2 separate regions of the Homo sapiens genome follow, and region 2 is linked to region 1. Evidence: promoter capture Hi-C in 16 types of primary human blood cells and fetal thymus (Javierre and others, 2016). All regions are on one chromosome and are shown on one strand. The core of a region is centred on a gene start or on the middle of the fragment in contact, and the rest is flanking DNA. Distances in the headings are between cores, read along the strand shown. Region 1 holds the start of EIF2AK4 (eukaryotic translation initiation factor 2 alpha kinase 4). Region 2 holds the start of FAM98B (family with sequence similarity 98 member B).

Evidence for each region. Contacts are between HindIII fragments. The CHiCAGO score rates a contact against its expected background, and 5 or more counts as called.
Region 2: a fragment that was not itself captured here is called in contact with the fragment with the promoter of EIF2AK4 in region 1 in 1 of 17 cell types (non-activated CD4 T cells); the score reaches 5.9 in non-activated CD4 T cells.

The regions. Positions count from the first base shown.
Region 1 is chr15:39,930,184-39,935,558 of GRCh38, forward strand. EIF2AK4 (eukaryotic translation initiation factor 2 alpha kinase 4) reads left to right here and starts at 3,932. Exons shown (of 39, transcript NM_001013703.4): 1 at 3,932-4,156. The coding sequence starts at 4,013. RefSeq lists an enhancer at 3,645-3,784 and a silencer at 3,805-4,214. The HindIII fragment of the contact is 8,824 bases long and covers 1-5,375 here.
Region 2 is chr15:38,451,761-38,457,440 of GRCh38, forward strand. It overlaps FAM98B (family with sequence similarity 98 member B), which reads left to right and starts at 2,367. Exons shown (of 8, transcript NM_173611.4): 1 at 2,367-2,472. The coding sequence starts at 2,402. RefSeq lists enhancers at 2,515-2,624, 2,685-2,784. The HindIII fragment of the contact is 160 bases long and covers 3,462-3,621 here.

The DNA.
Region 1 (5,375 bases), core at 2,682-5,181:
ATTGTACAGTTTGATAAGTTTTGATATATGCATATACTTGTGACATGATCACCACAATCAAAATAATGAATGTATACAGACATCACTCCCAAGAGTTTCTTCTTGTTCCACTTTAATCCCTCCACCTGGCTCTTCTATGTCCTCCCTATCCCCAAGCAACCACTTATCTTCTTTCTGTTACCAAATTTGTATTTTTCAGAATTTTATGTAAATGGAATTATGTAGTGTGTACTCTATGTCGGCCTTCTTTCATTCGGCATAATTATTTTGAGTTTGTCTATGTTGTTGCTGTATCTATAATGTATTTCTTTTTATTGCTGAATAGTATTTCATTGTATTGATATACCTCAATTTGTTTATACTTCAATATGTCCATCTTGTGTTGGTGGGCATTTGGTTTGTTTCCAGTTTGGGGATATTACAAATTAAGGTGCTACAAATATTTACATACAAGTCATTGTATGGACATACGCTTTTGTTTCTCTTGGGTAAATGCCTGGGATGGAATTGCTGTTTCATATAGTAGGTATATGCTTAAGTTTTTAACTAAAATGGATGATAGGCCAAAAGGTAAAATCTAACACTATCTAGATGAAGACATAGAAGAAAACCTTTTTGGCCTTGGGATAGGCAAATATTTCTTAGATATGACTGCAAAACATAATTCATGTAAGAAAAAAATGACAAATTAAATGTCCTCTAAAGTAAGAAACATGCTCTTTGAAATACAGTTAAGAGAATGAAAAAGCAAGCCACAGACTGGGTGAATATTTTTGCCTGTCACATATCTGATAAAAGACATGTCCGGCCTGGTGCAGTGGCCTACACCTGTAATTCCAGCACTTTGGGAGGCTGAGGCGAGCAGATCACGAGGTCAGGAGTTCAAGACCAGCCTGGCCAACATGGTGAAACCCCGTCACTACTAAAACTACAAAAATTAGCTGGGCGTGGTGGCATATGCCTGTAATCCCAGCTACTCGGGAGGCTGAGGCAGGAGAACTGCTTGAACCCGGGAGGCAGAGGTTGCAGTGAGCTGCGATCGCACCACTGCACTCCAGCCTCGGTGACAGAGTGAGATTCCATCTCAAAAAAAAAAAAAAAAATACATGTCCAGAATATATAAATATTTCTCAAAAGTTAATAAGAAAACAAAAACAAAATTTTTAAAATGCACCAAAGATGTGAATAAAAACAGAAGACAGACGATATATGAATGGAAAATAATCACATGAAAAGATGCCCAACATCATTAATCATTAGGATAATGCAAGTTAAGACACACTGAGATACTGCTAAGCACCAATTACTATGTTTAAGATTAAAAACATTACAATACCAATTACTGGCAAAGAGGTAGAACAACTGGAACTCCCATAAACTGATGGGAATATAAAGTGGTACAACCACTTTGGAAAACACTTTGACAGTTTCTTATTTTTTTTGCTTTGAACTTTGACTTTAAAATAATTTCCAACTTACATAAAATTTTCAAGTCACTCAAAGAGCTCTCATATATCCTTCACCTAAATTCTCCAATGTTCAACATTCTACATTTGATTTAGCATCATCTCTCTTCTTTTTCCTGAATCATTTGGGAGCTAACTGCATATTTAATACGTCACTGCCCCCTTAATGCTGCATTTGGTATAATACTGCCATGTAATCCACAGATTCCTTTCAAATTTTGCTGTTTGTTTTAATTATATCTTTTATAGGTCCAGCGTCCAGTATAGATTCTAATTTTACACAATGGAAATATTTGAACATAGATTAGGTATTAAACGATGCTAAGAAATTGTTAATTTTTTTTTAAGAGACAAGGTCTTACTCTGTTGCCCAGATTGGAGTGCAGTGGTGCAATCACAGCTCACTGCAGCCTTGGACTCCTGGGCTCAAGCAATCCTCCCACTCAGCCTCCTGAGGGTGGGACTACATGTCACCTCGTCCAGCTAATTTTTTATTTTATTTTTTGTAGAGATGGGGCCTCGCTATGTTGCCCAGGCTGGTCTCAAACTCCTGGCCTCAAGTGATCCTCCACCTTGTGCTGGGATTACAGGTGTGAGCCACTGTCCCTGGCCAAAGGGTTACATTTTTAGGGTATAAGATTAGTAATATGTTATGTTGGTTCCTTTTCTAGTTAGAGATATATCCTTAGGTATTTATTTTTTAAAATGATATGATTGAGACTTAAAAAAAACACTCCTGAGGGATGGAGAGAAGAGATGAAATAAAATTGACAAAATATCTATGGTTGTTGAAGCTGGATGATGAGTACAGAGGAGTTTACTTCTAAGTATGTTTGACATTTTCATAAATATAGGTTTAAAAGAATTTTTTTAAAGACCAATAGAGAAATGGAGTAATTTTAAGGATTAGAGTGCAATGGCCATATTTGCAATTTAGAAACATTACTCTGGCTGCAATAGGAAGAATGGCTTAATGTGGGGCAAGAATGAAGACAGTGACTAATTAAGAGAGTTATTGAAGTAACCCAGGGAATTGGTGACAGTAGCCTGAACTAAGTTAGTGGCAATGGGTTAGAGTGTAGTGGATGGACAGAAGTGGTGACTATTTGGATGTGAGTTGAGAGAAAGGGAATTCAGAATCACACTCAGTTGAATGGTGCCATTTACCTAGTCAGAGATCACTGGAGAAGGAACGGGTCTCCAGCAGAGGGAAGATGATGATTTAAATTGGCCTTGGGTCAAGCTAGTGCATTTGTGTTATCTGGCCAGAAATGAGTGGATAGATGGCAGCAAGGAATTTACACAATCATTATTTAGTGAACAGTGGAGGAGTAAGCAAGGTAGACAGAAGAAACGTCACTTAAACCTAACTTGGGTTAGTACAATAGGATTATTCGAAATGGACATGCAGCATTAGTAAGTTACTGAAGATGAAGTGCAATAACAATGTCTGGGTAGACAGGTTATTATTTTATAAACTTGAAAAACGACGACTTGAGGCAGGATATAACACAAAGACTCCCTAAATTCACACTGAGTGAACTGGGAAGGGAACATGATTCTCTTCATGGGAAGGTAGCTCATAAAGATGCCTGAGTGGAAAGACAGTTTTCAATTGAATTTGCAAGGTGGTAGTGGAGATCCCCAAAGCTGGGGAATGTAGAGACAGAGAACATAATGAGGGTGTTGAATCTGTGGCTCAGAGAATAAGTTTGGGGGTACTAAAGTGGGAGGAAGGAGGGTGGGGGGGGTCACAATTTTTACTCCCGGTAGTCTTGTTCTGGGAAGGTACAAGGTGAAATTAGAAGTGACCTCAGAACCCATCGACGTCTGCCCTTTAAGAGTTTCCCGGCCGGGCGCGGTGGCTCATGCCTGTAATCCCAGCACTTTGGAAGGCCGAGGCGGGCGGATCACAAGGTCAGGAGATCGAGAACATCTTGGCCAACATGGTGAAACACCATCTCTACTAAAAATAGAAAAATTAGCCGGGCGTGGTGGTGCGCGCCTGTAGTCCCAGCTACTCTGGAGGCTGACGCAGGAGAATCGCGTGAACCCGGCAGGCGGAAGTTGCAGTGAGCCGAGATCGCGCCACTGCACTCCAGCCTGGGGAACAAGAGCCGAAACTCTGCCAAAAAAAAGAAAAAAGAGTTTCCCGCACTAGCCATGCCAGGGTGGAGAAGTTCCAGCAAGCACTTCTGTTAAAGATACTTGTTTCGTGAAAACTATACAATGTGGCGTTTTCATTCCTATCTGTGATTCATTTCTTAAGTTCGTGGAGTTCCTTTGCTCCCCTTCCCCCAGCAGGATGTGGGCAAAGCTGTCCCCCTGCCTTCTTCCTTCGCCTGGGCTTCTGGAGCCTCCGGAGCTAGCTCCCGGCGCGGAGCTCCGCCTACGGCCCGTCCCCGGCGCGGAACCCCGCCCACGAGCCCGTTTCCAGCGTGGAACACCGCCCATAGCCCGTCCCCAGCGCGGAGCCCCGCCCCGCAGGCTGCCGGGGGCCCACCGCCGCCCAGGCAAGGCCGCCCTGCCTTGGGCGCAGCGCTGCCATGGCTGGGGGCCGTGGGGCCCCCGGGCGCGGCCGGGACGAGCCTCCGGAGAGCTACCCGCAACGACAGGACCACGAGCTACAGGCCCTGGAGGCCATTTACGGCGCGGACTTCCAAGACCTGCGGCCGGACGCTTGCGGACCGGTAGGAACGTGGCTTGTCAGGCCCGGGCTGGCGTGCCCTGGCCTCCCCGGGCCCTGGGCCAAAGCCCGGACACTTCCAGATTGGGCCGCCGCTTTAGGATCCTGCAGTCTTTTCATCCCTTAGGTTCCACCCATGCTCACTTTAGTCCTTGCACCTGCAGCTGGTCTGCAGAATCCCACCTAGGCCGAATTCTTCTACAGTCCTTTCCCCATGATTTCCCCAGAGGAATCCCCCTGGATTCCTCCCTCTTACCTGGCACTGCTTCTTATTCCTGCCTACATCCCATAACATAACTGCCTCCTTCCAACCTTGTCCTTTTTCCCCTCTGAAAGCCCTTGCGGATGATACCACAGCAATTCATACGCGCCCCTTGCTACTTTGTTCTGAGAACGCTTTTTGGGCTCTCGCACAGGCCTTACGTCCTCAATCAGAATTCTCAAGTCTCATCCATGCATTCAAATCTGCACGCCACATAATTCCCTCTGTACTCCCCAGGCATCCTCACTGTGTTTTCCGGTATGGAGGAACTTTCCATACCTCTGCACCTTCCTCTAAGACATTTAGCTCAGAATAAAGCACACATTCATCTTAGCTGTAGTAGAGAGAGGGTTCTAGACTGAGTCTAGAGAAGGAGTGTCCAATCTTTTGGCTTCCCTGGGCCACACACAAAATACACTAACACTAAGGATAGCTGATGACCTAAAAGAAAAAAAAAATTCGCAAAAAAACCTCAATGTTTTAAGAAAGTTTACGAATGCGTGTTGGGCCACATTCAAAGCGGCCCATGGGCCTCGGGTTAGACCAGCTTGCTCTAGCTCTAGACCTTTTAAAATGGCATTTTGTTTAAAATAATATTTTGCCTTTTTGTCTGGAAATTAAGGCACGTTATAAAGTATTTATACTGACAGTTTTTTCCCCATCCTTGAAGAGTTGATCTACCAAACTATTTCTGAATATTATCATATTATCATTTAAAACATAGTTCTAACTTCATCTGCTTTTTTTTTTTTTCTTTTTGAGACAGGGTCTTGCTCTGTCTCCCAAGCTGGAGTGCAGAGGCATGACCACGGCTCACTGCAGCTTATTCTCAAGCAATCCTTCTGCCTCAGCCTGTCAAGTACCTGGGACTACAGGCACATGCCACTACACCTGGTTAATTTTTTTAATTTTTTGTAGAGACAGAGTCTTGCTCTGTTGCCCGGGCTGGTATCAAGTTCCT
Region 2 (5,680 bases), core at 2,292-4,791, 1.5 Mb before region 1:
TTAGACCTTTTCAGTTTTTTCAAATATCTGTCATGCTTTTTTTTTTCTTTTGAGATAGGGTCTCACTCTGTTGCCCAGGCTGGAGTGCAGTGGCTTGATTACAGCTCACTGCAGCCTCGGCCTCCTGGGCTCAAGCAATCCTGATCGTCCTGCCCTAGCTTCCTCAATAGCTAGGACTACAAGTGCATACCACCATACCTGACTAATTTTTAAATTTGTTGTAGAGATATGGTCTCACTTTGCTGCCCAGGCTGGTCTCAAACTCCTGGACTCAAGTGATCCTCCCACCTCAGCCTCCCAAAGTGCTGGGATTACAGATGCGAGCCACCATGCTAGGCCAGTCATGCTTTTTTGTTTGTTTTTAGTTCTTTTTCTGTGCATAACTTTTGTTATTCATTTATTTAGATTTTTTAGGAAAACCAGCAGCAGAACACTTAAGATCAATAATAATAAAGAACAGTTACCTCATTTCTATTTGATTTTTACAGAGACTTTTTGCCAAGAGTACTAAGACTAGTACCTTCTATGACACCCCAACTCTGACAAGAGGCAGTAACCACTAATATACATTCTCCTCTCCCTTATTTGGAGATGAATTCAGATACATTAAACTGCAAGTAATTTTACGCTTAAGCCTTGTACAACACTAAAATATACAGTAATAATAGTCATTATACAAATGTATGGTTGAGTTTATGATATGGTTAGGATCTGTGTCTGTGCCCAAATCTCATGTTAAATTATAATCCCCAATGTTGGAGGAGGGACCTGGTGGGAGGTGATTGGATCATGAGGGCAGAGTTCTCTTGAATGGTTTGACACCATTCCTGCCTTGGCACTGTATAGTGAGTGAGTTTATCATGAGATCTGGTTTTTTAAAAGTGTGTGGCAGATCACGAGGTCAGGAGTTCGAGACCAGCCTGACCAACCTGGTGAAACCCCGTCTCTACTAAAAATACAAAAATTAGCCGGGTGTGGTGGTGGGCGCCTGTAATCCCAGCTACTCGGGAGGCTGAGGCAGGAGAATCGCGTGAACCCGGGAGGCGGAGTTTGCAGTGAGCTGAGATCATGCCACTGCACTCTAGCCTGGGCGACAGTGCGAGACTGAAAAAAAAAAAAAAAGTGTGTGGCACCTCCCTGCCTCCCTGCACCCTCTCTCTTCCTCTTACTCCGGCCACGTGATAGCTGCACTCCCCCTTCCCCTTCTGCCACAACTGTCCATTTCCTGAGGCCTCCCCAGGAGTGGAGCAGATGCCAGCATCATGCTTCGTGTACAGCCTGTGGAACCATGAGCCAATTAAACCCCTTTTCTTTATAAATTACCCAGTCTCAGGTATATCTTTATAGCAATATGAGAGTGGACTACTACAGCTTACCTTTGAGTGTTTTACACATTTATGGGTATGCTTTTTGTTTGTAACCATAATTAGGAAGGCGAGAGCATTACTGGTCTTTATTGGACTGGGGCTACGAATGCTATGTAGTCTGCAATGGAAGGGACAGGTCCATACAAGGGATCAATAGTTATACTTCATGCAGGATTTCCAACAGTTCTGCTAGAGTATTCATGTAGGTGACATGCCTGCTAATAATGATCTAACCTTATACTCTTAGTACCTTTTACATATGAACCCTAAAATACATTTTTTAAATCCTTTAGATAAGAGATTGAATTCTTCATGGATAGTACACAGAGGGTATATTATGTTTTGTTTGTTTGGAACTTTACAGAGAATTCGCCACAATTTTGGAAAACCACATCAACTACCTTACTTTGCTGGCGGTATGTTTGTTGCTTATACAACTAATGCTTTGTCAGCAATGAAGCACATCATCTGAATATGCAGTTGAGGGGATTCTACATAGATAGATGCAAGCATCTGATCACTTCATTGGTCTTCCGCATTTCATAAGGAGAAAAATATTACCTTGTTATAAATTACTTCATTTTTTCCTTCAAGTTGAAGCATCGTCGTGTATATTGATTTAAAAATTATATGTGTAGGCATGTGATATTAGTTACTAATTTTAGCTGAAGATAATTATAATTTTATTTCAGATTTCTGTTATTAAAAAGGTCTGGAATCGGATAGGTTGAGATCAACCCGATACCACGATATTTGCTAAAATTTATTTGAACACACAGAAAAGTCCCAACACAGAGAACTCTTTATTACTATTATTTATTATTTCTACTATTCTTTTAAAAAATTATTATCGTTACACGCAGCGGTTTTAGGCACTATGAAGTGTTTATTGCCTCGGGGCTGGGAACCTTTGCGCCCTTCTTCAGCTGTGCTCTCAGGCAGTTACCGGCCAGACCCGGACCGGAACCTTGGCGCGGTGACGCTAGTTTCCGGCGGGCTACTTAGAGCGCCGAACAGCTCTGGGCCAAAGGACCATGAGAGGGCCGGAGCCGGGTCCCCAACCGACGATGGAGGGAGACGTGCTGGACACACTGGAGGCGCTGGGGTGAGTGCTTTTGGAGACGCCTTTTCCCTGAAAACGCAACCTCTCCTTGGCCTGGCTGCTTAGCCTACTTCCCTTGGGCCTCTGTGGGCCTGGGCGGCCATGTGTAGGCCTCCTTCCCTGCCTCGATCCCTCCGGCGCCGACGGAGTTAAGCGGGAGGCGGGAGAGAAATCTATTTGGGGGGTGGAGCAGGGCCGGAGAGCTGGGGTTCGTGGCCCCCTCTTCGAAACTTCTTGCCTCGAAACTCTGTTGCAGGAATCCGCCGGGTGGCGCGGAGCGGCCCTTCTAGCACCGGTTTTCTGGGCTAGCTCGCGCCCGCAGGTGATATTTGTGTTGACGTAGTTCTGGCGCCCGGAGGGAGGTGCTGGAACCTGAGCTGCTGTTGAGGACTGTTGTCTCCTACAATGTACAACTTGTGGCTTACTTGGGGCTCTGGAGCGAATGGCTTTTACTTTGACCGGAGAAAGTGTTGTAGTTCATTGCGAGTTCGTTCTTTCAACCATTTCGTCCGTTCGTCAACGTGTATATTAGCTTGTATATTAATTTACACATATTTACGTTTGTAAATTTCCCCTAGGCAAGGGAAAAGGATAGTTTTTCAGATTACTCTTGGCTTACATAGTCGCGCAGGCTGCAAGTCTGCTGCCGGCTGGTATTTACAGTGCAGAATGGTAAGTGCTGTGAGAACTCAGGGTGGAGGTGGGAGTAATGTTAATACTTAACAAGTGTGGTGGTTCGTAATCTCCCCCTCAACCTCATCCTGTTTTTTTCCACACAGCTCTTGTCCCCATCCCAAATTATCATGTCCTGCCCATTCATTTGTCTCTTGAACTCTGCTTCTCCCTCGTTTTATTCCTCCTCCTCCCCAAGTCAGCTCCTGGAAAACTGATGCTTTGCATATTTTATTCACCGATGTTTTCCCAGCAACACACTAGAACGGAGTCTTTTACAGTAAATAGTGGTTGAATGAATGAGTAAATGAATGAAGAAAAGCTTAGAGAAGAGTCCACAGCAGTAAGCATAGGACCAGATAGTTGAGTCATACAGTGCACATTAAATAAAGAGCTTGGAGCCATCTGCACATTTGTTTGCCCTGCTACGTGCTGCTGTTTCTTGATAGGGGAAGCTGTGCCTTTGCAGCGTTATTATGAAGCTTGAACCAATCCCACACCCCACTTTATCTTCTCTAAAACTGCATTTGCCCCTCTATCAATTGTTTCTTTAGTTGAACCCTGATAATACCTACTTTGCAGTGACCCAGGGTTACGGAGTCTTGCACTTAGTAGATCGTGAATACATATTTGTCAAACGAAAGAACAGTGCCATTGATTATTTAGGGGGCATTTTTACTTCTGTGAAGTCCCTTGGAAGTTCTCACTTAACTTGGTTAAGAAGGAACCAAAACAAGAACTGAAAATACTTAGTAGAATTATTTAGGCTCCAAACAGTTTGAGCTCCCAAGTACTTCAGGTAAGAATATTGGGAACTCATAAATGGTTTATGAAAAAGGAAAAGGCAGTGCTTTTCTTCTTTCTTCATTTCTTGAACTTATTGTTCATATTATAAGTGTTTTAGAAAATTCATTGCTATAATCTTGATTTTTATCAAGGAAAATTAGTCAGATTATTCAACATGGAAAGTAAAACAGTTTACACACTCCAAAATTAGTTTTTCCTGGAATAACTATGAGGGCAACATTTTGAAGTTTGAATTCTCCTATGATAATACGATGTGAAAAAAGTAGTTATTTACAATATGTGTTGTAATGGAACACTGTGTTTTCAAATATCCATGTAGATAGTGAATAATGCATTTTCTGTTGTAAGGTATTGAGGATATCAGCAAAGGTACTTCAGTTTGTCATGTAAAATAAATTAATGGGAGGCATTTGAAGGGAAAAATCTATGTGAAAGGACAATTTAGTGATACAGGTGAAAACAGGATAGGCTAGGAGTCAGTCAGTTTTCTCATCTGTGAAAAGAGAGGGCTGGAGCAGATGATTTTAGAAGTCTCTTTCAGTTCTGATAGTCTCTGATTTTGTGGAATAGTAGATCTCAACACTGGAAGTACATCAGAGTCGTGTGGAACTTGTGAAAAACTGTTCCAGTCTAGTATATACCATAGACTGACCGAATCATAATCTTCAGAGGTACAGTACAGACCTGCATATTTTTAAAAAGATTCACAGACTCAGTTGAGAAACACTACTATGGAGAGAAGTTTCCTTTAAATATTTATTGAACACACTGTATATTGGACCTCGTTCTGAGGAGTCAGTGGTGAGCAAAATAGACTTGGTTCCTACCCTTGTGGAGTTTATAATCTAGTGGAGAAACAGACATGATCACAAAAACAATTATAAACTATAATAAATGTGTCAAAGGAAAAGAACAGGGTGATGTAACAGGAGGATCTAAGAAGTCTTAGGGGTTAGTGATAGATTCCTGAGGAAGTGACATTTGAGTTGAAATAAGAAGGGTGAATAGAAATTAAGTAGTTAAGGTTGGATGGATGAAAAAGGGGGACAAAGATATCCTTACAGTGAGAAGAAAATGTGAAGACTTTGAAATGTGAAGGAGCTTGCTGTATTAGAAGAACTGGAAGGAGGCTAATGTGGTTGGAAGGCAGAGTGTGAGGGGCAGAGTGGTGGGAAATTGGATTCAAGAGTTAGGTGAAAATCAGGGCATGCAGCCCCTTTTAGTCTGTGTTGTGGATTTTATTCTTGATCATAACAGCAATGGGATGTGATCGAATAATTTTAAATAAAAAGGGAGTGGTTAGATGTCTAGTTTGAAAGTTACATCTGTCAGCAAGATGGAAAATAGATTGGAGAATTTAGTTAATAGTCTGTGAAAGAAATGATGGTTGCTTAGTGGCAGTGGATATGGGAAGAACTACATTACTGAACTTAGTGATTGATTGGATATTAAAATTCAAGGATTCATTTCTCTTTATTTTAAAAAATTTTTTAGATACAGGGTCTTGTTATGATACCCGGGCTAGTCTTGAACTCCTGGCCTCAAATGATCTCCTGCCTTGGCTTCTCAAAGTGTTGGGATTACAGGTGTGAGCCACCACGCCCCAACAGATTAATTTCTTCAGTTGGTATTTATTGAGCACCAAAATGAAATGATACACCTTAGAATCTAAATTGGATACAGAAGAATGTGAAGATAGGAGAGAGTTGGTAAATATGGAGAATGCAGAGGA